Linked DNA regions of Homo sapiens: regions 2, 3, 4, 5 and 6 are each linked to region 1. Evidence: promoter capture Hi-C in human tissues and cell types (Jung and others, 2019). All regions are on one chromosome and are shown on one strand. The core of a region is centred on a gene start or on the middle of the fragment in contact, and the rest is flanking DNA. Distances in the headings are between cores, read along the strand shown.

Region 1 (3,599 bases), core at 292-2,791:
TATTTTCTTTTTTTTAATTTTATTCTTTTTCTCTTTTTTTTTTTTTTTTTTTGAGACAGGGTCTCACTCTGTTGTCCAGGCTGGAGTGTAGTGGTGCAATCTCGACTCACTGCAACCTCCACCTCCCGGGGTTCAAGCGATTCTCCCGCCTCAGCCTCCTGAATAGCTGGGATTACAGGCACGTGCCACCACGCCCAGCTAATTTTTGTATTTTTAGTAGAGACTGGGTTTCACCATTTTGGTCAGACTTGTCTCGAACTCCTGACCTAGTGATCCACCTGCCTCGGCCTCCCAAAGTTCTGGGATTACAGGCGTGAGCCACCACGCCCGGCCCAATTCATTTTCAATTCAACAAATATCTATATTTATATCTCAATAGCTAGTGAGTGCCTACTACGTGCCAGATACTAGACACTGGACTGTAAGTATGAATAATATAGACATGGCCCCTCCCCTGTGGATCTTATAATGAGGAAGACGAGCACATAAACATGCAAGTAGAACAGGGGAAGTAGAGGGTGCTGCTCAAACACAGGGTGGGGCACTCAACAGACAGCCCAGCATCTAGATGTCTTCACAAAACAGGCAATGTCTAGGCTGGGGCTTGCCGACGAGTTAGCTGAGGGCAGGGTGGAGAGGCCCAAGGGAGTAGGAGGCTTCCCAGCTTCCAAAGAAGTTAAGAGTGTTGCAAAAAAGTGGAGTCCAGATCTTGAAGGGGAGAGTGGGCTTAGGTCCGGGGGCATGTGAAGCGCCCTCCGTCTGCTGCGCTGGGGGAGATGCTGCGGTATCCTGGAGTGGTGTGAAGGAGGCCAGGACCTGCGATGGGAAGACGGAGACGGGAAGGCCCTGGTGGCCCAAGGGATGACCAAAAGTGAAGCGCTCCTCTATGACAAGATTGAGACAAAAATAAAGGAATAAAGTTCTGAATGCGGTGGGAGAGTCTCCTCCGTCCTCCCTCACCTTTGCTGGGCAGGAACCAAACCTGCTTGCCCTCGGTTTGCCCCATCACCGACGGGTGTGGTCGGGGGCACAGCTCTTCGCCCTTCTTCTCAGATAGGAAAACTGAGGCCCAGGGTCCTGAGGCAGAAATCAAGGTTTTCTCCTCGAAATGGCCTCCCAAGAGGCTGCCCGGGGTCTCACACGATCCTTCGAGGGTCCTGCGGCCTGCCCCACGCCTCCGCCAGCCATCCTCGGCTGGTCGTCTTTGCTATGGAAACGGTCCTCCCGCCCTGCTCCGCGCCTCCGTGTCTTCAGTGCACTCTGGGAAATGCAGTCCCGCTCTGTTTGCCTACCCGCGGCGTGAGCCCACTCCGCGTCCTTAAAGAACTATAAGTCCCAGAAGGCTGTGCGAAACTCCGCCGGTCTCTGGGGGATGTGGTCTTGAAGGAGAGACCCAGGAACCTGCGGGCGGGGCCGGAGGGAGAGGGGAGGACGCCCCCAATGGGCAGACTCCTGGGCGGGGTCCGGGTCACCATTGGCTCCGGCGGCGCGAGGGAGGCGGGGTCAGAGGAATGAAGCGCGGAGCTGTTCGCCGCTCCAGGTGCTGAGTCTGAGGGAGGCTCCGGACCCGAGAGCCGCGAGAGCCGCCGCCGCTGCGGCCGCCGCCAGATCTGCGGCCGGGAGCCCGGGCTGTGAGGAGCCGGGAGGAGCGGGGTGCGCTGCCGGGCGCTGACCGCCCTCCCGCCCGCCGTCAGAGGTCAGTGCTGCTGAATTCGCTTTTGTTTTCTTGGGGAGCGGGCGAACCGAGGCGTGAGGGGCTGGGGAGTTGACGGGACGTGTTCTCGTTGCTCTCAGGACCGCGGGTCCCGGACAGCCGCCGACTGACTAGGGGCCTCCCGTGGCCGGGCGCCGGAGGTCGGAGCAGCTTGGGTTAGTTTTCGTTTTATCATGGAGAAGGCTCTTGGGTATGAGGGGCGAGGGCTGGGGGTCACCCCCACCCCCCATCTCTCCTGGGAGAGCGAGGAGGCTTGGACCCTCCCTCCCGCTGTGCCTGGCGACGGGGCTGCTCGGATTACTCAGGACGGGAGGATGAGGTGTTGTGGGATGAAGGGACTCGAGGCAGGGGGACCCCTCCCCGCAACACTTCGGCTGCTCGAGGTTACAAAGGAGTCTGGTGGTGATGGATGAGATCGCGGACCGCTCCCCTAGCCCAGACCCTCCCAGGGGTATTCAGGAAGGGCTGCTTGGGATGCAGGGAAGACCCTTGCCCAGGCCCCTTCCTCCACACTCGCCCCCCTCCCTATTCCCCCCTCCTCCCTTGGCCCTAGGGTTTTGTAAAGAGGAGGATCGAGGATGTGGAAGAGACAGAGGACTCTTACCCCTCCCACTTGGACCCTCCTAGGTTACTGGTGAAGGGTGGAATTGGAATGTGGCAGGGAAACGCTGGGAGACCCCTCCCCATCCTTCTCGGAGTCGCGGGTGGAGGAAAGCACTGACACTCGGAATCCCCCGCGCTCGGGCCCGCGCCGAGGGTTGGGTGGCCTGGGTGTGAGAGGTAGTGTAGGGGGATGTACGAGGACAGGAGGGACCCCTCCCCACCTCTCCCCACCTGGGCCTTATCTCCCAGGCCCTCCCTACCTGGATCCAGGCCTGGGGCTCTAAGTCGAGACGACCCGCCCTAGCCCACCACGCCCCGGGGACCGAGCCTCTGGCACCGCAGCTGGGGGCCAATCCCAGATGGGCATGTACAGAGCGGGACGGGGCGGGTCTCCCCTCAAGCACTCAAGAGCTCCAGGTAGACGCTACCCCCAACCTCGTGCCCGCGAATCTTTGGGGGCTGCTCCGCTCCGATGCAGGGCGCACCCCAAACCGAGGCTCGGGGACCTGCTTCCAGGACGCGCGGTGGCTGTTCCAAGGCATGGGGCTTTCGCGCTCGGCCCAGGCATCCTCGAGAGGACAAAGCGGCGGTCGCCGCACTGGCAGGCCTGCGCCGCGGGCTGGGCGGGGGGCGCGGCCGCGGAGGGGGGGCTTCGGGCGCGGCGCGGGCAGCTTCCACGGAAACGTGCCAGGAGCGGGGCGGGAGACAAAGCGCACCGGCTTCTAGCGGGCCCGCGCGAGCCGGGATGGAAAATCCCGAGGGAGGAGGCGGCTGAGCCAGGGCAGGGCACTATGCCCCCACATCTTTCCCTTTTCCCATACCCCCTACCCTAAGGCCAGCCAGGCACCCAGGATTCTGTGCACGCGATGGTGACCAGGGCCCCTTCGGGGGCCGAGAGTGGGGGTGTTCAGGACCTGTGACCACTAGGACAGGGACAGGTGGGGGCTCCACCTTGAGCAAGGGGCCTGGAGTTCACAGGGCGTGAGTGGGCCAGGGTCCAGAGGGACATCCTGACTGGACCCTCCCACGCCCCATCAGCCATGTTAGGTCAAATTTGGTTCTGGGGAGGGGATGTGTTTAAGTGTGTGAGGGTTTGCATGGATGATGGTGTGGGTCAGAGTGTGGGTGTGAATGTGTGTGACTAGATGAATGTACCCATGTGTGTTTCAGTCTTCATGTGTGTGGCACGGCCAGAGCTTGCGCTTCGGGCTGTGTGTGTGTGTGTGTGTGTGTGTGTGTGTGTGTGTAGATGAACCACTTACTCATTTACTGATGGGCTTGG
Region 2 (3,599 bases), core at 596-3,095, 500 kb before region 1:
TTAAGTTTACCTTCCACCACTGCCAAGTTCTCAACGTGACCTGAGAGGGGGTAATTGATGCTTCATTCAGTTAAAAATTGTAAAGTTATGATTCACCAACAAAAGGAACTATGTCAGTGTTAATAAAAAATATAATTGGGCTTACTAAGTGTGTGAACAGCTTCAAGTATCATCTTAATCACATCTGGTGAGATTAGGAATTTTAATTTGTATTTGAGATGAAGGGTGACATAGGCTGCTTGCTCTTTAGTTGGGGAGGGAAACACAAAAGCAGGGTGCACCTCTAGCTGATACTGCAATAAAGCTCCAGTAAAAACCATGGATTACTTAGAGAGTGTGGGATGCTGTATTTAAGGGGAAGTCTGAAGAGGGACTTGCTGTTTTACTTACAAGCTCTCTCACTACTCCATCCTCCTTAACTTGCCTTCAAATTCCAACTTTACTAGAGAAAGGGTGGCTCCAGGGCAAAATTTAAATCGCTGTTCTGCAGGGAAGGTACTTAGACCTCCTTAATAGCTTGTAAAGTGGACATTTAAGCAACTGACTCTTTACCTGGAGGTATCTCATGTTGCCTTCTTGGTCATGAATCCTGCCTTTGTGACAGCTAGTCTATATGAATAGGAGGTGAGGGACTTTAAAGGAGCCCCAGAAGCCATGAAATTAAGAAGTATTTAATTGCTTCACTGAAAATGTCATGATCCATGGTTCCATGGTTTAATTTTACCATCCGTAAGAGCAGAGGCTGGCCAGGTGTGGTGGCTCACGCCTGTAATCTCAGCACTTTGGGAGGCCGAGGCGGGTGGATCACAAGGTCAGGAGATCGAGACCATCCTAGCTAACACGGTGAAACCTCGTCTCTACTAAAAATACAAAAAATTAGCTGGGCGTGGTGGCGGGTGCCTGTAGTCCCAGCTACTCAGGAGGCTGAGGCAGGAGAATGGTGTGAACCGGGAAGGCAGAGCTTGCAGTGAGCTGAGATCACGCCACTGCACTCTAGCTTAGGCGATAGAGCGAGACTCTGTCTCAAAAAAAAAAAAAAAAAAGAACAGAGGCCATGGTGTTGTGACAAAGGTGAGAAAATGCAATGGAAAAAGGAAGGAAGTACAGAGGCATAAATAAGGGCCTTGGCTTTGGAGTTGAATCCAGCCTCTATTACATACTGGTTGGCCAAGCAGTTGGCCTCTTAGCCCTGGTTTCTTTGTCTGAAAAATGGGAGATGAAGATACTGACTCCTATACCTTGCCTTCATGCCCATTTTGCTCCACTAACAACCTGAACTGCTTCCCTTCTGTTATACTTTATATTTGCCCAACCCCCCCACCCTGCCTTTTTTTTTTGAGACAGGGTCTCTGTCACCCAGGCTGGAGTGCAGTTGTATGATCACAGCTTGCTGCAGTCTTGACCTCTTGGGCTCAAGTGATTCTCCCACTTCAGCCTCCAGAGTAGCTGGGACTATAGGCATGCGCTACCACACCCGGCTAATTTTTAAAATTTTTATAGAGACAGGATTTTGCCATGTTGTCCAGGCTGGTCTTAAACTACTGGGCTCAAGTGATCGTCCACATCGACCTCCCAAAGTGCTGGGATTACAGGCAGCAGCCACAGCACCTGGTCTGGCCCCACTCTTGAACATCTTCCTACCTTTGCTTTTCCCTCAGCTTCAATCCCCTCACACTCATTTGAGTGTCTAAATCCTGCCCACCCATCTTTCATAGTCCTGAGAGCTCCACAAAAAACAACAGTACTGTTCTGAGTTTTTAACGTTATTTTTAAATTTTTTAAATTTACTTTTTTTTTGAGACAGAGTCTTGCTCTATTGCCCAGGCTGGAGTGCAACGGTGCCACATCAGCTCACTGCAACCTCCGCCTCCCAGGCTCAAGCGATTCTCCTGCCTCAGCCTCCTGAGCAGCTGGGATCACAGGTGCCCGCCACCACACCTGGCTAATTTTAGTACTTTTAGTAGAGATGGGGTTTCACCATGTTGGCCAAGCTGGTCTCGAACTCCTGAACTCGTGATCGACCCACCTCAGCCTCCCAAAGTGCTGGGACTACAGGTGTGAGCCACCGCGCCCATCCTAAATTTTTTTTTTAAAACAGAGTCTCGCTCTGTCGCCCAGGCTGGAATACAGTGGCTCGATCTCGGCTCACTGCAACCTCCGCCTCCCAGGTTCAAGCGATTCTCCTGCCTCAGCCTCCAGAGTAGCTGGGATTATAGGAACCCATACTATGCCCAGCTAATTTCGTATTTTTCGTAGAGATGGGGTTTCACCATGTAGGACCAGGCTGGTTTCAAACTCCTGACCTCAGGTGATCTGCTTGCCTCGGCCTCCCAAAGTGTTGGGATTACAGGCATGAGCCACCACGTGTGGCCTTTAATTTTTTTAAGTGTACAATTCAGTTAGTTTTGGTATATTTACCAGGCTGTGCAATAATCCCCACTATCTAATTCCAAAACATTTTCATCTCCTCACAAAGAAACCTCATATCCATTATCAGTCACTCCTTACTCCTCCATCCCCCACATCCTCTGACAACTATTACTCTACTTTCTGAATTTATACATTTGTCTGTTTTGGACATTTCATTCATATAGGAATCATACAACACATGGCCTTTTGTGTCTGGCTTCTTTTCCTTACCATATTTTCAAATTCATTCATGTTGCAGTATGAATCAATAGTTCATTCCTTTTTACTGCCAAATAATATTCCACTGTGTACATACATCAGATGTTATGAATCCATTCATCAGGCGGTAGATATTAATATGTATGTTGTTTCAATTTTTCAGCTATTATAAATAATGCCTATATATATATATAAATATAAACTTTTGTGTGGACATATGTTTTCATTTCTCATGGGTATATACCTAGGAGTGGAACTGATAGGTCACATGATAACCATGTTTAACCTTTTGAAAATGGCCAGACTATTTTTCAAAGCAACTGTACCATTTTACATTTCTACCGGCAACATTTCTTCACATCCTCATAATTTGTATTATTTTAAAGTAAGCTTTTTTTTTTTTTCTTTGAGACAGAGTTTCGCTCATCTCCCAAGCTAAAGTGCAATGGTGCAATCTCGGCTCACTGCAACCTCTGCTTCCCGGGTTCAAGCGATTCTCCTGCCTCAGCCTCCCAAGTAGCTGGGATTACAGGCACTGACAATCATGCCCGGCTAATTTTTGTCTTTTTAGTGGAGACAAAGTTTCACTATGTTGGCCAGGCTGGTCTGAAACTCCTGACCTCTAGTGATCTGCCTGCCTCGGCCTCCCAAAGTGCTGGGATTACAGGTGTGAGCCATCATGCCTGGCCAAGGTAAGCTATTTTTAAATGTCATTTATTGGCACCAGAAATACAACAGATCTCAAAAGTTCTATACAGAAAGCTACGTGCTTACTTAACTCACGCTCTCAGTAAACTGGATAAATCCCAGGATTGACTTCTTTCTTTCTTTCTTTCTTTTTGAGACGGAGTTTCACTATTGTTGCCCAGGCTAGAGGGCAATGGCGCGATCTCGGCTTACCGCAACCTGCCCCTCCCAGGTTCAAGCGTTTCTCCAGCCTCAGCCTCCCAGGTAGCTGGGATTAGAGGCAT
Region 3 (3,599 bases), core at 542-3,041, 480 kb before region 1:
ATTCCTGGGAGTGGAATTGCTGGGCCAAGTAGTAACTCTATGTTTATCTTTTCGAGGAACTGCCAGACTGGTTTCCAAAGTGGCAGTACCATTTCACATTCCTATTTAGTCCCCTTTTCACAGATAACAAAAAATTGAAGCCCACAGGGATTAAGTAATTTGCCAACGCATGGTAATGGGATGGCCAACCCAGGTGGTCTGTTGACTGTACCTCGCTGATGGAGCCAAGGGAAACTGAGTTAACTCTGACCTCACCATGTCTGCTTCTGGACCTTTTGGGAAGGGTGCCTTATTCTCTACATCCTCTCTAGATTTGGAGCCCACAAGTTAAAGGGGATGTGGAGAACAACAAAGAACCATAAAAAGAGAAATAAAGTTACTGCAAAAAATTTTTTGATAAGAAAATATTTAATACCCTGAGTTCTTTTAGCTTAACGAGAGAGCAAAGGTGCATATAGACAGTAGTTGAGGCTGGGCGTGGTGGCTCACGCCTGTAATCCCAGCACTTTGGAAGGCCAAGGTGGGTGGATCACTGGAGGTCAGGAGTTCGAGTCCAGCCTGACTAACATGGTGAAACCTTGTCTCTACTAAAAATATAAAAAATTAGCTGGGCGTGGTGGCGGGCACCTGTAATCCCAGCTACTTGGGAGGCTGAGGCAGGAGAATCACTTGAACCCGGGAGGCAGAGGTTGCAGTGAGCTGAGATCACACCACCGCACTCCAGCCTGGGTGACAGAGCGAGACTCTGTCTCAAAAAAAAAAAAAAAAAAGACAGTAGCCGACTAACATAAAAGGTTAATGTGATAAGAGTTCATGTGTGAGTCATTCTTTACCTCCTTGAATTAGAGGAAATACGATTTAATCTACAGAATATGTAAACATTAATAAAAACTTCCTCATCATTATGAGACACTGAAACTCTATAGGGACTCTTTGGAAACCCTTCAGGAATATTATTATTATGACTTAAAGTGTCCTAGCTAGGAGGCAGGAAGACGGACAAAATGACCAGTAGTCTCCTGGCCCTAGGACTTTAGAGATTTTGTGCAAATAAACATGATACAGTCTCTGGTCCACATACTTAAAGTCCTTTAACCAGGACTGACTTACCCTGAATTGCAGATAGATATACAAAAGTGTCTTCATGTTCCAAGTTTTCCAAGAATATCTGGAACCACAAAATACAGCAGTGATAAGATTTACAAAGAACAAGGAAGATTTAAGAGGCTCCCTTATCAGCAGCTCAAAGGAGTAAATGCTTCGCTTCTTGTTTTTCTTGGGTAGAAACTGGTCTGACAGAGTTTTGTGGGGGAAATGGCATATATGCTTAAGTCTCATTTTTATAACCATTAAAAAAGTATAGAGACTGGGGGAGATACTTGTATTCTTCCAGCAGTAGTCCTGGAAACCGATGGAAGAACAATCCTCAACATTTTTCCATGACAGCCATGGTGAATAACATTCTCACATATGGCATGACAGACTACGGGGTGTGACACACAAGAGACAAGGTTTGGGGTTATGTGCAATGGATGGCACATTTGCTGCAATTTGATCCTTTTCTCTTGTACTCACAAAGCATATGGAAGTGCAAGTGAGATAGAGATGTTATTATTGAGATAACTTTGAATCTGTTCTAATTTATTTTTGAAAATCTTGTAAATTTCAGCACTTTAATTGATATTAGTAACAAATTACTCTCAAAATATCTTACAATTTAGGAACCTATCAGGGGTATCAACTACAGTGAGTACAGCTTATCTGGAAGATATTACATGATATGTTAGGTTTAGGCCCCAACATGAGAGCCAGAGAAAGGAAGACGGAAGTGTCTGCTCCATATATAATGCTGTGTTCTTCGTTGGCACAGTAATTCTTGACATCAACTTGATGCTGCTGGTCTCTACATGTGAAGTATGTACGGAGAGCCTAAAATTACCCCAGTTAGGAAGACGGCCAGTTTTGAAGGTAGGGAATCTTTTATGGAGTAAGCAAGGGAAGCTTAATTTAGGGTAATGGCCATGGAAATAAAGAGGATAAGATACATTTGAAAGACTTCTTTGAAAAAAGAATTGACAGGACTTGGTGACCAATTATGTACAGCAGAAGAAGGTTTAATTAAGCTAAAAAAAATTCCAAGATGTTCATTGAATTCACCTTCAAATAGGTGTATAAAAGGATATTTAAGGCCAGGCGCGGTGGCTCATGCCTGTAATCCCAGCACTTTGGGAGGCCGAGGCAGGTGAATCACTTGATGTGAGGAGTTCAACACCAGCTTGGCTAACATGGTGAAACCTCATCTCAACTAAACGTACAAAAATTAGCTGGGTGTGTTGGTGGGCACCTGTAATCCCAGCTACTTGGGAGGCTGAGGCAGAAGAATCACTTGAACCCAGGAGGTGGAAATTGCAGTGAGCTGAGATCGCACCACTGCACTCCAGCCTGGGCGACGGAGCGAGACCCTGTCTCAAAAAAACAAAACAAAACAAAACAAAAAACAGCTATTTCACCACGATGAAGGGAGAGAAGAGGGGAGGAGACCCAGTTTTGCCCAACGCCCCACTAAAGATGCCCAGAGAAAACAGGTGGCTTATCTGGGCTGGGTCACAGTGTTGAAGCAGACCTATTTATCACAAAAGGTACTTTCCCATCTCTGGGAATTTGTTCAAGCTATCCCACCCCTCTTTCATCTGCTCAAACTTTACTAGTTTGTTATGGCCATATTAAGGCCTACATCCTCCAGAAGATTTCAACTTTCTCTTTTTCCTGACTGCCCACAGCATTTCTTGCATGCAAAAATTTTGAAGGATGGGTGTGGTGGCTCACGCCTGTAATCCCAGCACTTTGGGAGGCCGAGGCAGGTGGATCACGAGGTCAGGAGATCGAGACCATCCTGGCTAACATGGTGCCCGTCTCTACTAAAAATACAAAAAATTAGCCGGGGGTGGTGGCAGACACCTGTAGTCCCAGCTACTCGGGAGGCTGAGGCAGGAGAATGGTGTGAACCCAGAAGGCGGAGCTTGCAGTGAGCCGAGATTGCACCACTGCACTCCAGCCTGGGGGACAGAGCGAGATTCCATCTCAAAAAAAAAAAAAAAAAAAAAAAATTGGCACTCAGTTCATATTCATTTGAGGAGTTTAAGTCTTTCCTGTGTCTAAATAAATCTTTCCTGTGTCTAAGTGTTGCCTCCTCACAAAATTCACAAATTTCTGGAGGGTGGTCCAGAACAGCACTTGACACATAGTCCAGGCTCCAAAAATACTTGAGTTGAATGAATGCCCCACCCTGTGCCCATGTGTCTTTACAGTGTGTTCTACTCACCTTGAGAAGCTTCTCTTGCATCTCAAGGGCTTTTGCTTCTCTCTGCTCTATCCAGTGGGAAAGAGTACGCAGGGCAGCAGCCCGTGTTGGAATTTGAGGGTCATAAGCTGACAAAAGAACCTCTTGGAGCTGTTCTGTGGTTACGCTTCCAGATTTCTGACTTGTAGTAGTGCTGGGCTCATTGACTCCTTGAGGAATGATTGGAGCATTTGACTGCAGGCCTGTCTGGGGGGCTGTCTCATGGCTCTGCTGTTGTTCAAGGTGGCTATGAGCTACA
Region 4 (3,599 bases), core at 750-3,249, 360 kb before region 1:
GTACAGTTTGAATTTAATGACACATTCTCTTATCAATGACAAATTATATATATCCACCAAAATGACCAATCAAAACAAAAACCAATGAGACCCTTTGCTATATCGTAAAGACTGCATTCTCTTTTTATCCTTCTTAGTGTCCAGAGCTCAAATAATCATCATGCATACACAAGTATTGGTTTCAGGGTTTGATATTATAATTTACAAGCTGTTTCAAGCCTACATAATCTCATTTTTATTTTTTTGAGACAAGATCTGGCTCTATCACTGAGGCTGGGGTACAGCGGCAAGATCTTGTCTCACTGGAACCTCTGCCTCCCAGGCTCAAGCCATCCCTCCCATCTCAGCCTCCTGAGTAGCTGGGACTACAGGTGTGCACCACCATGGCTGACTAATTTTTGTATTTTTAGTAGACGTAGGGCTTTGCCATGTTACCCAGGCTGGTCTCGAACTTGTAAGCTTAAGCAATGTGGCCTCCCAAAATGCTGGGATTACAGGCATGAGCCACCACACCCAGCCCATAATATAATTTTTAACAGCAACATTATACTCTGATGATTTAATATCAGAGCTTACTCAACAACTGAATATTTGGGTTTTCGATTTCTTTTCTTTTCTTTTTTTAAATAGAGACAGGGTCTTGCTCTGTCACCCAGGCTGGAGTGCAGTGAAGTGATCAAAGCTCACTGCAGCCTTGAACTCCTGAGCTCAGGCAAGCCTCTGACCTCAGCCTACCAAGTAGCTGGAACTACAGGCATCCACCACCATGCACCACCATGTGCACCTAATTTTTTAAATTTTTTAAATTTTTTTAGAGGCAGGGTCTTGCCATCTTGCCCAGACTGGTCTCGAACTCCTGGGCTCAAGCGATTCTCCTGCTTTGGCTTCCCAATTTGCTGGGATTACAGGTGTGAGTCACCGCACCCAGCCTCTTTTATATTTTTCTTGGGGACACAGGTCCTCAACGTGGAGTTATCCCAAAACAAGTAGATTTTGAGAACTTGTACTAAGAACTACTTTGTGATCAATATAAATCTCTTCATCTCACTGTATCATTATGTCTATATGGTTTCCATTTGTTCTAACAGAAGCTGTTGGGATGGAAGCCAAAAACACCCTTTGAGACTTGTATTGAACAGTTTTCATATGCAATAAAGATAACTTTATGCACATGCAGGGAAATAAGAGAGTTGAAAATGGAAGGAAAATATTTGCCAAATTGTTTAAGTGTTTTAAGGTGATTACTGGTAACACAGTAAAGTTTCCAGGGGAAAATTCCATCTCTCACCCTCCACATAAAAACTCACAGTCACTGATCACTGCTTGCCAAGTTTGAGTTCAGCTCTATTTTCTGGCTTTAAGATTGAAGATGCACCAGATACATGTGAGATATGACCAGGTATCATCACAGAGCCCTTCCCCAATGCTGCACACTGGCCACATGTGCACACATGCGCACACACCTATGCTCTCTGCCCTCTACATCCTGTGTTTGTCTCCTAGAGAGGCAGCCCAGCCTGCGCCAAGGGCAGGCTCTGGAGCTAGACTGCCTGGCTTTGAATCCTCATGACAGTACCTCCTTGCCCCAGGCAGATATTACTTAATTTCTCTGTATTACAGCTTCCTAATGTCTGAAATGGGGATAATATTAGAACCTATCTCATATAATTCTTGGAAGGATTAAATGAGATGCTGGTATTGCACATTTAAAGCACTGTGAATACTGCCTGAAACATAGTAAGTGCTCAATAAAGGTAATGATGGAGATGATGGTTGGACTGGTTGGAAAACACTGAGTTATGGTTTTATTGAGATTTGACCCCAGCACATGAACAAAATAAAAAACTGACCATCATCACTGTATCCTGGGCCAGGCGTGGTGGCTCACACCTGTAATCCCAGCACTTTGGGAGGCTAAGGCAGGCAGATCACTTGAGGTCAGGAGTTTGGGATCAGCTTGGCCAACGTGCCAAAACCCTGCCTCTACTAAAAATACAAAAATTAGCCGGGCATGGTGGCACACACGGGGTCCCAACTACTTGGGAGGCTGAGGCGTGAGAATTGCTTGAACCCGGGAGGCAGAGGTTGCAGTGAGCTGAGATCATGCCACTGCACTCCAGCCTGGATGACAGAGAGAGATTCTGTCTCAAAAATAAATAAATAAATAAATAAATAAATAAATAAATAAATAAATATACAAAAATTAGCCAGGCATGGTGGCATGTGCCTGTAATTCAAGCTACTCAGGAGGCTGAGGCAAGAAAATAGCTTGAATCTGGGAGGCAGAAGTTGTAGTGAGCCGAGATTGTGTCACTGCACTCCAACCTGGGAAACAGAGCGAGACTCTGTCTCAAAAACAAAAACAAAAACCAATCCCAGAAAAACCACTGTATCCTAAGCCTTAAAACAGCCACCTTGGCCAGGCCTGGTGGCTCATGCCTGTAATCCCAGCAGGCTTTTTCCTTTGGGAGGCTGAGGCGGGTGGATCACCTGAGGTGAGCTCAAGACCAGCCTGGCCAACATGGTGAAATCCTGTTTCTACTAATAATACAAAAATTAGCTGGGTGTGGTGGTGCACACCTGTAATCCCAGCTACTCAGAAGGCTGAGGCAGAAGAATTGCTTGAACCCAGGAGGTGGAGGTTGCAGTGAGCTGAGATTGTGCCATTGCACTCTAGCCTGGGTGACAAGAGTGAAACTGCATCTCAAAAAAGAAACAAAAACAAACAAACAAAACAACAACAAAAACTGGCCACCTTGCACAGCCATGGTGAGCACATGGGCACTGATGGATGAATGCAAACCCAGTTATCACAATGAAAGGAAAGGAACATGCATGCCTTGCTGACACCAGGACTGTGGAATATTTTCAGAGAATGAATAATGATGAACACTGTGCTGGCAAAACATCACACTAACATTTTCATGTGTTAAATGAAAGGGAGTCATGCCTGAAAACACTGCACGTGGAAGTGATCCCTCAGAAAAATAGGATACCAGGTGGGGCACGGTGGCTCACGCCTATAATCCCAGCACTTTGGGAGGCCAAGGCAGGTGGACTGCTTGAGGTCAGGAGTTCAAGACCAGCCTGGCCAACATGGTAAAACCCCATCTGTACTAAAAACACAAAAGGAAGGGAAATGGAAGAAGAAGAAAAGAAAAGTAAAAAGAAAAGAAAGGAAGGATGCCAGACTGAGAAAACTCACCCAAATAAGATGAAAGGACTAGAGACTAAGATCTATTCTTACACAAATTTAGAGATTTTGAGCCTGCGCAACAAAGTGAAACCCTATCTCTACAAAAAAAAAAAAAAAAAAAAAAATTAGCTGGGCATGGTGGTGCACCCTGTGGTCCCAGCTACATGGAAGATTGAGGCAGGAGGATTGCTTGAGCCTGGGAGGTCAAGGCTGCAGTGAGCTGTGTTCCCACCACTGCACTCCAGCCTGGGTGACAGAGCAAGACTCTGTCTCCAAAAAAAAAAAAAAAAAAAAAAAGATTTTGTTACCTGGATATGTTGTTTTTTAAAAAAGTTAAAAATTAATCAATATATAATGAAAGCGAGGTAAGACTGCCATCTAATTACAGTACCACCTGGTTCCA
Region 5 (3,599 bases), core at 447-2,946, 340 kb before region 1:
TTTTGCTCTTGTTGCCCAGGCTGGAGTGCAATGGTGTGATCTTGGCTCACGGCAACCTCTGCCTCCCGGGTTCAAGTGATTCTCCTGCCTCAGCCTCCCGAGTAGATGGGATTACAGGCATGCGCCACCATGCCCGGTTAATTTTGTAGTTTTAGAGATGGGGTTTCTCCATGTTGGTCGGGCAGGTCTCGAACTCCCAACATCATGTGATCCGCCCGCCTCAGCCTCCCAAAGTGCTGGGATTACAGGCATGAGCCACCGGGCCCAGCCTCCTGGGGCACTTTTTAAAAATACTCAGCCAGGGCCCCTGCCTCAGACTAACTGAATCCAGATGTCCAGGGCTGGGGCAGTAGCAACTAAGGAGTGAGGGATTTCTTCTGGAGGTGATGAAAATGTTATGAAATTGATTGTGGTGACGCTTGCTTAAGTCTGTGACTATAAGGGAAACTGTTAAATTCTACACTTTAAATGGTGTAATATATGCTATGTGGATTATGTTTCGATAAAGCTGTTACAAAAAAAAAAAAAAGATGAGCCAATCGCACAAAGTATTCACAAGCCCATCCTTGCAGAGAGACCACTGCTAACACCTGATATGTGTCCTTCAGATCCTGGTCTATATCCCTTTCCTAATTCATTTACTCCCTTGTCCTGCATCCCTTTACATCCTGTTCTCCAAAATTAGGTTCTGGACATTATTCTATTTTTAAACACCTGGCCAGGTGCGGTGGCTCACACCTATAATCCCAGCACTTTGGGGAGGCTGAAGTGGGCGGATCACTTGAGTCCAAGTCCCGTCAAGACCAGCCTGGGCAACATGGGGAGAGCCCATCTCTACAAAAAATACAAAAAAAAATTAGCTGGGCATGGTGGCATGCACCTGTAGTCCCCATTATTTGGGAGGGCTGAGGTAGGAGGATCACTTGAGCTGGGGACGTCAAGGCTGCAGAGAATCATGTTCGGGCCACTGCACTCCAGCTTGGGTGACACAGTGAGAACGGATCTTCCTGTCCAACTTTCTTTTATTTATTCATTCATTTTTTGAGACAGAGTCTTGCTCTGTCACCCAGGCTGGAGTGCAGTGGCATGACCTCAGATTACCGCAACCTCCGCCTCCTGCGTTCAAGTGACTCTCCTGCCTCAGCCTCCCAAGCAGCTGGGATTACAGGTGCCCGCCACCATACCCAGCTAATTTTTGTTTTTTGTTTTTTTTAGGAGAGATGGGGTTTCTCCATGTTGGTCAGGCTGGTCTTGAACTCCTGATCTTGTGATCCACCCGTCTCGGCCTCCAAAAGTGTTGAGATTACAGGCGTGAGCCACCATGCCCAGCCCCAACTTTCTTCTTATTTCACATTTACCCATTTAAAAAAATGTGTAAATGTGGCTTATATACAGTCAACCCAAAAAGTAATTAGGATGGGTAAAATATGGTATAGCTACTCAGCAATAAAAAGGATCAAACATCACAAAACGCAGTAGCATAGATGAACCTTAAAAGCATTACACCGAGTGAAAGAAGCTGTTCACCAAAGTACACAGTTCATATGAAAAATCTAGAAAACTAGAGACAAAAAGCAGATCAAGGGTTGTCTGGAGCTGAGTTAGGCTTGACTACCAATAGGCCCAAGGGAACTTGGGAGGTGGTGGAAGTATTCTAAAACTGGATTGTGATGACAGCTCAACAGCTGTGTACGTTTATAAAAATTATCTAACTGTACACTTACAGTGGGTAAATTGTGTGGTATGTAAATTAAATCTCAATGAACCAGTAAGAAATATATAGCTATTAGGGTCTCTTGAGGAATACCCCATCAGTCAAAGTCCTATGGTTCAAAAATGAAAGAATCCAGGCACCCAAAAATGCCAAGGTTATGAAAAAGTGCAGAGAAGAGAAGCCATAAACAATTCTTAATTAACAGTAGGCTGGGTGCGGTGGCTCACACCTGTAATCCCAGCACTTTGGGAGGCCAAGGAGGGCGAATCACTTGAGGTCAGGAGTTTAAGACAGGCCTGGCCAACATGGTGAAACCTCGTCTCTACTAAAAATACAAAAAATTAGCGGGGCGTGGTGGCACATGCCTATAATCCCAGCTATTCAGGAGGCTGAGGCAGGAGAATTGCTTGAACCCAGGAGGCGGAGGTTGCGGTGAGCCAAGATCATGCCATTGTACTCCAGCCTGGGCAACAAGAGTGAAACTGTCTCAAAAAAAAAAAAAAAAAAATTAGCCGGGCGTGGTGGTGGGTGTCTATAATCCCAGCTACTTGGGAGGCTGAAGTGGGAGAACTGCTTGAACCCAGGAGGCAGAGGTTGCAGTGAGCTGAGATTGCACCATTGCACTCCAGCCTGGATGATAAAGCAAGACTCTATCTCCAAAAAACAAAACAAAACAAAACAATAGTTATAGGCTGGGCATGGTGGTTCACACCTGTAATCCCAGCACTTTGGGAGGCTGAGGTGGGAGGATCACTTGAGGCCAGGAGTTTGAGACCAGCCTGGGCAACATAGTAGGATCCCATCTCTATTTAAAAAAAAAAAAAATCAACAACTAAAAACTGAAAACAAAAAATCTTTTTGAGAGTAAATATTCACTATGACAGTCATTACGTGTGGGCACTGTGAACTTTACATTGACTCCTATGTTGCTGTGAGGCAGGTAGGGGTTTTTAACCCCCTTAATGCTGATGAGCAACTGAGGCGAAAGGCTTAAGTCATTTGCTCAAGGTCAGGGCCTTGTCAAGGTCACAGAGCAGGTCAGCCTCTGAAGGAACATTCGCCCCAGAACCAGCCAGCACCAAAGCTTCTGTTCTTCAGCACTAGGCTTGCGGAGGGAGAGAAATTCCAGGGGTAGTTAACAGCAATGTGGGATGGGTAAAAGTAACCACAGATTTATTCTCTATAAAAAACACAACCCAGATATAAACACGCATCAATCTAGGGCCACATTTTCCAAGCACTGGCTGACACCAAAATGTGCTGAATCTGGCTGCAAAAACACAGGAAAGCCGTTGTGGAATTCAGAACCTTTGAATCATTCAATAACTCAAGAACAAGATCTGGAAACCTTCTACAAAGAATGAATGTGAGGCTTGCACTACTTTCAAATGTGGGCTGTGCTGGAAAGGCTCGGACCCTCTGCCTCTGACCTTTGGAACAAAACTCAAACAGCCCAAGAGAACAGCTGGGAGCCAACACTGCGAAGTGAGGCATTTCCCACAGTCTCCAGGTCACATGTGCTTGCAGATGACTGTACAACAAGTGCTCACTTGTCCAATAGAGCTCACAAGAGGATGCCTTTTCTCTTTTAATGGATGCTAGCATCATTTTTCATTATCAAGAACAAATAAGCATTGATGGGAAAGGCAGCTGCTTCCAAGAGCATTTGCTGAATCTACTCTGGCTGCCTGGAAAGGTAACTGCTCAGACTATATGTGTGCCTTGGCTCAGGCTCCTGAGAAATGAAGCCTACAACCCATGCTGCATCCTCCTGAATACCAAAAAAAAAAAAAAAAAAAGAAAAAAAAAAAAAGAAAGCAGAAAGATCTCAGACTGGGGGGCTCACTTCAAGAATTCCAAGTAGGGTCAGGTGCAGGCTCAACCC
Region 6 (3,599 bases), core at 734-3,233, 310 kb before region 1:
ATTAATTAAATGTAATTAGCTGGGCACGGTGGCTCACACCTGTAATCCCAACACTTTGAGAGGGCTAGAGGGGCAGATCATCTGAGGTCAGGAGTTTGAGACCAGCCTGACCAACATGGTGAAACCCCATCTCTCTAAAAATAGAAAAAATTAGCCAGGCATGGTGGCAGGCGCCTATAATCCCAGCTACTCAGAAGGCTGAGGCAGGAGAATTGCTTGAACCCGGGAGGCGGAAGTTGCAGTGAGCCGAGATGGCACCAGTCTGGGCAACAGAGCAAGACTCCATCTCAAAAAAAAAAAAAATTGCACTCAAATGGATGTTGGGTCAAAGGAGCGTCTTATTCTTTAGGAGGTCAAGAGCAAAGTGATAAGGGGGTATCACTCTTCCTCATACTCAATCCTCTGTGGCTCCTTTGACACTTACACTACCCGCCCCCCGCCCCATGCTTTTTCACTCCCTTGACACAAGTCTAAAGCAGAAACATCTAATGAGAAAAACTAATTTGTTTTTTTAGAGATCGATTCTTGAGACATTGACCAGGTTGGAGAGCAGTAACTATTCACGGGCACAATCAGCATGCACTGCAGCCTCGAAACTCCCAGGCTCAAGTGATCCTCCTGCCTCAACCTCCCAAGTAGCTAGGACTACAGATGTGTACCACGGAGCCCAGCCAATAAAAACTAAATGAAGAGTGGTTGCTACGTACCAGGCACTGGAAGCACTTCGCACATGCTAACTCATTGAATCCTCATTGCAATCCTTTGTGGTAGGGGCTATGTTTATCCCCTTTGTACAGGTGAGGGGACTGAGGCACAGAAAGATTAAGAAACTGGCCCTAGGGAATTCCCATTTGGGTCTCTCTCTCTCTCTCTCTCTCAAAAAAAAAAAAAAAAAAAAAAAAAAAGAAATAAAAAGAAGCCTACCCTAGGCAAAATGGGGTGGGGTTGGGATAGAGGGGAGGGACACAAAAAAATTTGAAAAAAAAGAAAGAAACTTGCAGGCCAGTGCAGCAACTCACATCCGTAATCCCAGCACTTTGGGAGGCTGAGGCGGGCAGATGGCTTGAGCTCAGGAGTTCAAAACCAGCCTGGGCAACATGGCAAAACCTCGTCTCTACAAAAAATACAAAAAAAAAAAAAAAAAAGATTAGCCTGGAGTGGTGGCATGCACCTGTAGTCCCAGCTACTTGGGAGGCTGAGGTGGGAGGATGGGGATGACTTGAGCCCAGGAGGCAGAGGTTGCAGTGAGCCAAAATTGTACCACTCCACTCCAGCCTGGGTGACAGAAAAAGGCCCTGTCTCAAAAAAAAGAAAGAAAGAAAGGAAGGAAGGAAGGAAGGAAGGAGAGAGAGAGAAAGAAAAAGAGAGAGAGAAAGAAAGAAAGAGAAAGAAACTTGCCCAAAATCACAGGAAAAGTAAGGGTCCAGTTGGGATTGGAATCCAGGCAATCCTGCTGCATTCCACCCTCCCAGTTCATCTTCTCTAAGAGAAGCTCATAGGCTAAAAGAGAAATAAATGCTGAAGAGTCAAATCTCTGTCAAAACCAGAAATGAAACCTCACATCTGGCAAGTAAAATGTGGTTTCCTAGGTTCAACAGCTTCCCAGGTATTTAAACACTCCCATGGTGGAAGTGAGAGGATTAGCAGAAAGAAGAATGAAAAATCATAACCAAATTACAAAGCCCAAAGAAAAATAAGTACAACTTACAGGAAGTTTCAAAATCAAAAACTCAGCTGGTTGCCATGGCTCACACCTGTAATCCCAGCACTTTGGGAGGCCAAGGTGGGCGGATCACTTGAGGTCAGGACCAGCCTGGCCAACATGGTGAAACCCTGTCTCTACTAAAAATACAAAAATTAGCCGGGCATGGTGGCGCTGGCCTATAATCCCAGCTACTCGGGAGGCTGAGGAAGGAGAATAGCTTGAACCTGGGAGGTGGAGGTTGCAGTGAGCTGAGACTCCAACACTGCGCTCCAGCCTGGGTGACAGAGCAAGACTCTGTCTCAAAACAAAACAAAACAAAAATCAGAGACTCAAAATACAGCTCTGAAACATCCAAAAACCTCAAGGAGTAGAAGAGGGCTTTGTTTTGTTTTGTTTTTTGTTTTTGAGAGAGCGTCTCGCTCTGTCACCCAAGCTGGAGTGCAGTGGTGCAAAACGCAGCTCACTGCAGCCTTAACCTCCTGGACTCAAGGGATCTACCTGCCTCAGCCTCCCATGAAGCTGGGATCACAGGCACACGCCACCATGCCTGGGTAATTGTTTTTGTATGTAGAGACAGGGTTTCCCTTTGTTGCCCAATCTGGTCTCCAACTTCTGGGCTCAAGCAATCCTCCCACTTTGGCCTCCCGAAGTGCTGGATTACAGGCATGAGCTACCGCACCCGGCCTCTTTTTAAATGCAGACTTGAGACAAGAAGGCAAAAGTTACAAGAAATACAACCACAAATTCTATTTTCTCCAGAAAATTTAGTCATGATTACAAGCCTGGGAGTTAGGTGGTAATGAAACCAGCCACATGAACGTCACCAAGCAGCTGTTATTTCTCCAAAACCTTTTAGCACGAAGCTAACAGAGACGAGATCTAGGGCTAGTATCTCCTGGGACTTATGAGTAAGAGCCGGCACCTAGAGTACCTGTCACTATAGAGGGTGATGTCACCGCTGATTCAACCTGATATTGAAAAACCTTACCAGGAGAGGCCTCTCAATGTCGGTGACTCAGGGCCCCACCCCACCTGTTCATAAAGTAAGTGCCCAGGTGTTTGCCTCACTGCTTATTCAAGGGATGATGTTTTCCAATAGGAAAGCCACAACTCTCCCCACCAACAAGTTGGTCATCTTGTTCCCTTTTTCAAACACTCCCACATAGTTGTGGTGAAGAATTTGTTGGGGAGGAAGCCTCGTACTGAAGGTGAGATTCCAAAGTAAGTACCAGGTCCTAGGAACACTCGTATACATGCACAAAAAAAAAAAAAAAATATGCCCTAAATGATGCCTGTTTAGAAAATATCATCCCTCTGCAGGAAGAATCTTTAGAAAACTCGGCTAGGCACAGTGGCTCATTCATGCCTGTAATCCCAGCACTTTGGGAGGCCGAGGAGGGCTTATCACCTAAGGTCAGGAGTTGGAGACCAGCCTGGCCAACATGGTGAAACCCCGTCTCTACGAAAAATACAAAAAGTAGCCAGGTGTGGTGGCACATGCCTGTAATCCCAGCTACACCGGAGGCTGAGGTGGGAGAATCGCTTGAACCCGGGAGGCAGAGGTTGCAATGAGCCGAGATCAGGCCACTGCACTCTAGCCTGGGCAACAAGAGCAAGACTCTGTCTCAAAAAAAAAAAAAAAAAAAATTTAGAAAACTCTGCTGGAGCAATATTCCTCTTGGGCAACATGCTGAGGGGTGGGGAGTGGCTTGGAATGAGCATTATTTCCTGGTTTGAATCTGATACCCTTTAAAGGAGATGTTCCTAAAGTGGCAGGTCAAAAGAGAAAGATAAATAAATAAAAAATGAAGGAGATGTGAAAATGAGCCCTCAGGATTCCTTCTCTAGAAAATGCCTGGCCTGGCCGGGCATGGTGGCTCAGACCTGTAATCCT

The links. Contacts are between HindIII fragments. The study calls those that stand out against the background at their distance.
Region 2: a fragment that was not itself captured here is called in contact with the fragment with the promoter of SMPD3 in region 1 in 2 of the 25 tissues and cell types used here (IMR-90 fibroblasts and lymphoblastoid cells).
Region 3: a contact is called between a fragment that was not itself captured here and the fragment with the promoter of SMPD3 in region 1, in 2 of the 25 tissues and cell types used here (heart left ventricle and pancreas).
Region 4: a fragment that was not itself captured here is called in contact with the fragment with the promoter of SMPD3 in region 1 in 1 of the 25 tissues and cell types used here (H1 embryonic stem cells).
Region 5: a fragment that was not itself captured here is called in contact with the fragment with the promoter of SMPD3 in region 1 in 1 of the 25 tissues and cell types used here (liver).
Region 6: a fragment that was not itself captured here is called in contact with the fragment with the promoter of SMPD3 in region 1 in 1 of the 25 tissues and cell types used here (adrenal gland).

Annotation. Positions count from the first base shown.
Region 1 is chr16:68,446,450-68,450,048 of GRCh38, reverse strand. It overlaps SMPD3 (sphingomyelin phosphodiesterase 3), which reads left to right and starts at 1,541. Exons shown (of 9, transcript NM_018667.4): 1 at 1,541-1,696. LOC124903705 (a long non-coding RNA gene) reads right to left here and starts at 1,209. Exons shown (of 2, transcript XR_007065097.1): 1 at 983-1,209; 2 at 1-884. RefSeq lists an enhancer at 1,174-1,223 and a silencer at 1,324-1,843. The HindIII fragment of the contact is 13,014 bases long and covers 1-3,599 here.
Region 2 is chr16:68,949,057-68,952,655 of GRCh38, reverse strand. The region is part of intron 14 of TANGO6 (transport and golgi organization 6 homolog); the gene reads right to left. Among named protein-coding and RNA genes, the nearest start is that of TANGO6, 110 kb to the right of the region's middle. The HindIII fragment of the contact is 4,454 bases long and covers 1-3,599 here.
Region 3 is chr16:68,927,807-68,931,405 of GRCh38, reverse strand. TANGO6 (transport and golgi organization 6 homolog) reads right to left here. Exons shown (of 18, transcript NM_024562.2): 13 at 3,323-3,599; 14 at 1,111-1,168. Among named protein-coding and RNA genes, the nearest start is that of TANGO6, 86 kb to the right of the region's middle. The HindIII fragment of the contact is 4,152 bases long and covers 1-3,599 here.
Region 4 is chr16:68,804,719-68,808,317 of GRCh38, reverse strand. All of the region lies in intron 3 of CDH1 (cadherin 1), which reads right to left. Among named protein-coding and RNA genes, the nearest start is that of TANGO6, 37 kb to the left of the region's middle. The HindIII fragment of the contact is 4,088 bases long and covers 1-3,599 here.
Region 5 is chr16:68,786,449-68,790,047 of GRCh38, reverse strand. All of the region lies in intron 2 of CDH1 (cadherin 1), which reads right to left. Among named protein-coding and RNA genes, the nearest start is that of CDH1, 51 kb to the right of the region's middle. RefSeq lists a cis regulatory region at 3,233 and an enhancer at 3,161-3,305. The HindIII fragment of the contact is 3,553 bases long and covers 1-3,472 here.
Region 6 is chr16:68,755,514-68,759,112 of GRCh38, reverse strand. The region is part of intron 2 of CDH1 (cadherin 1); the gene reads right to left. Among named protein-coding and RNA genes, the nearest start is that of CDH1, 20 kb to the right of the region's middle. RefSeq lists cis regulatory regions at 304, 1,785, 2,514 and enhancers at 232-376, 1,619-1,668, 1,713-1,857, 2,349-2,448, 2,442-2,586. The HindIII fragment of the contact is 6,946 bases long and covers 1-3,599 here.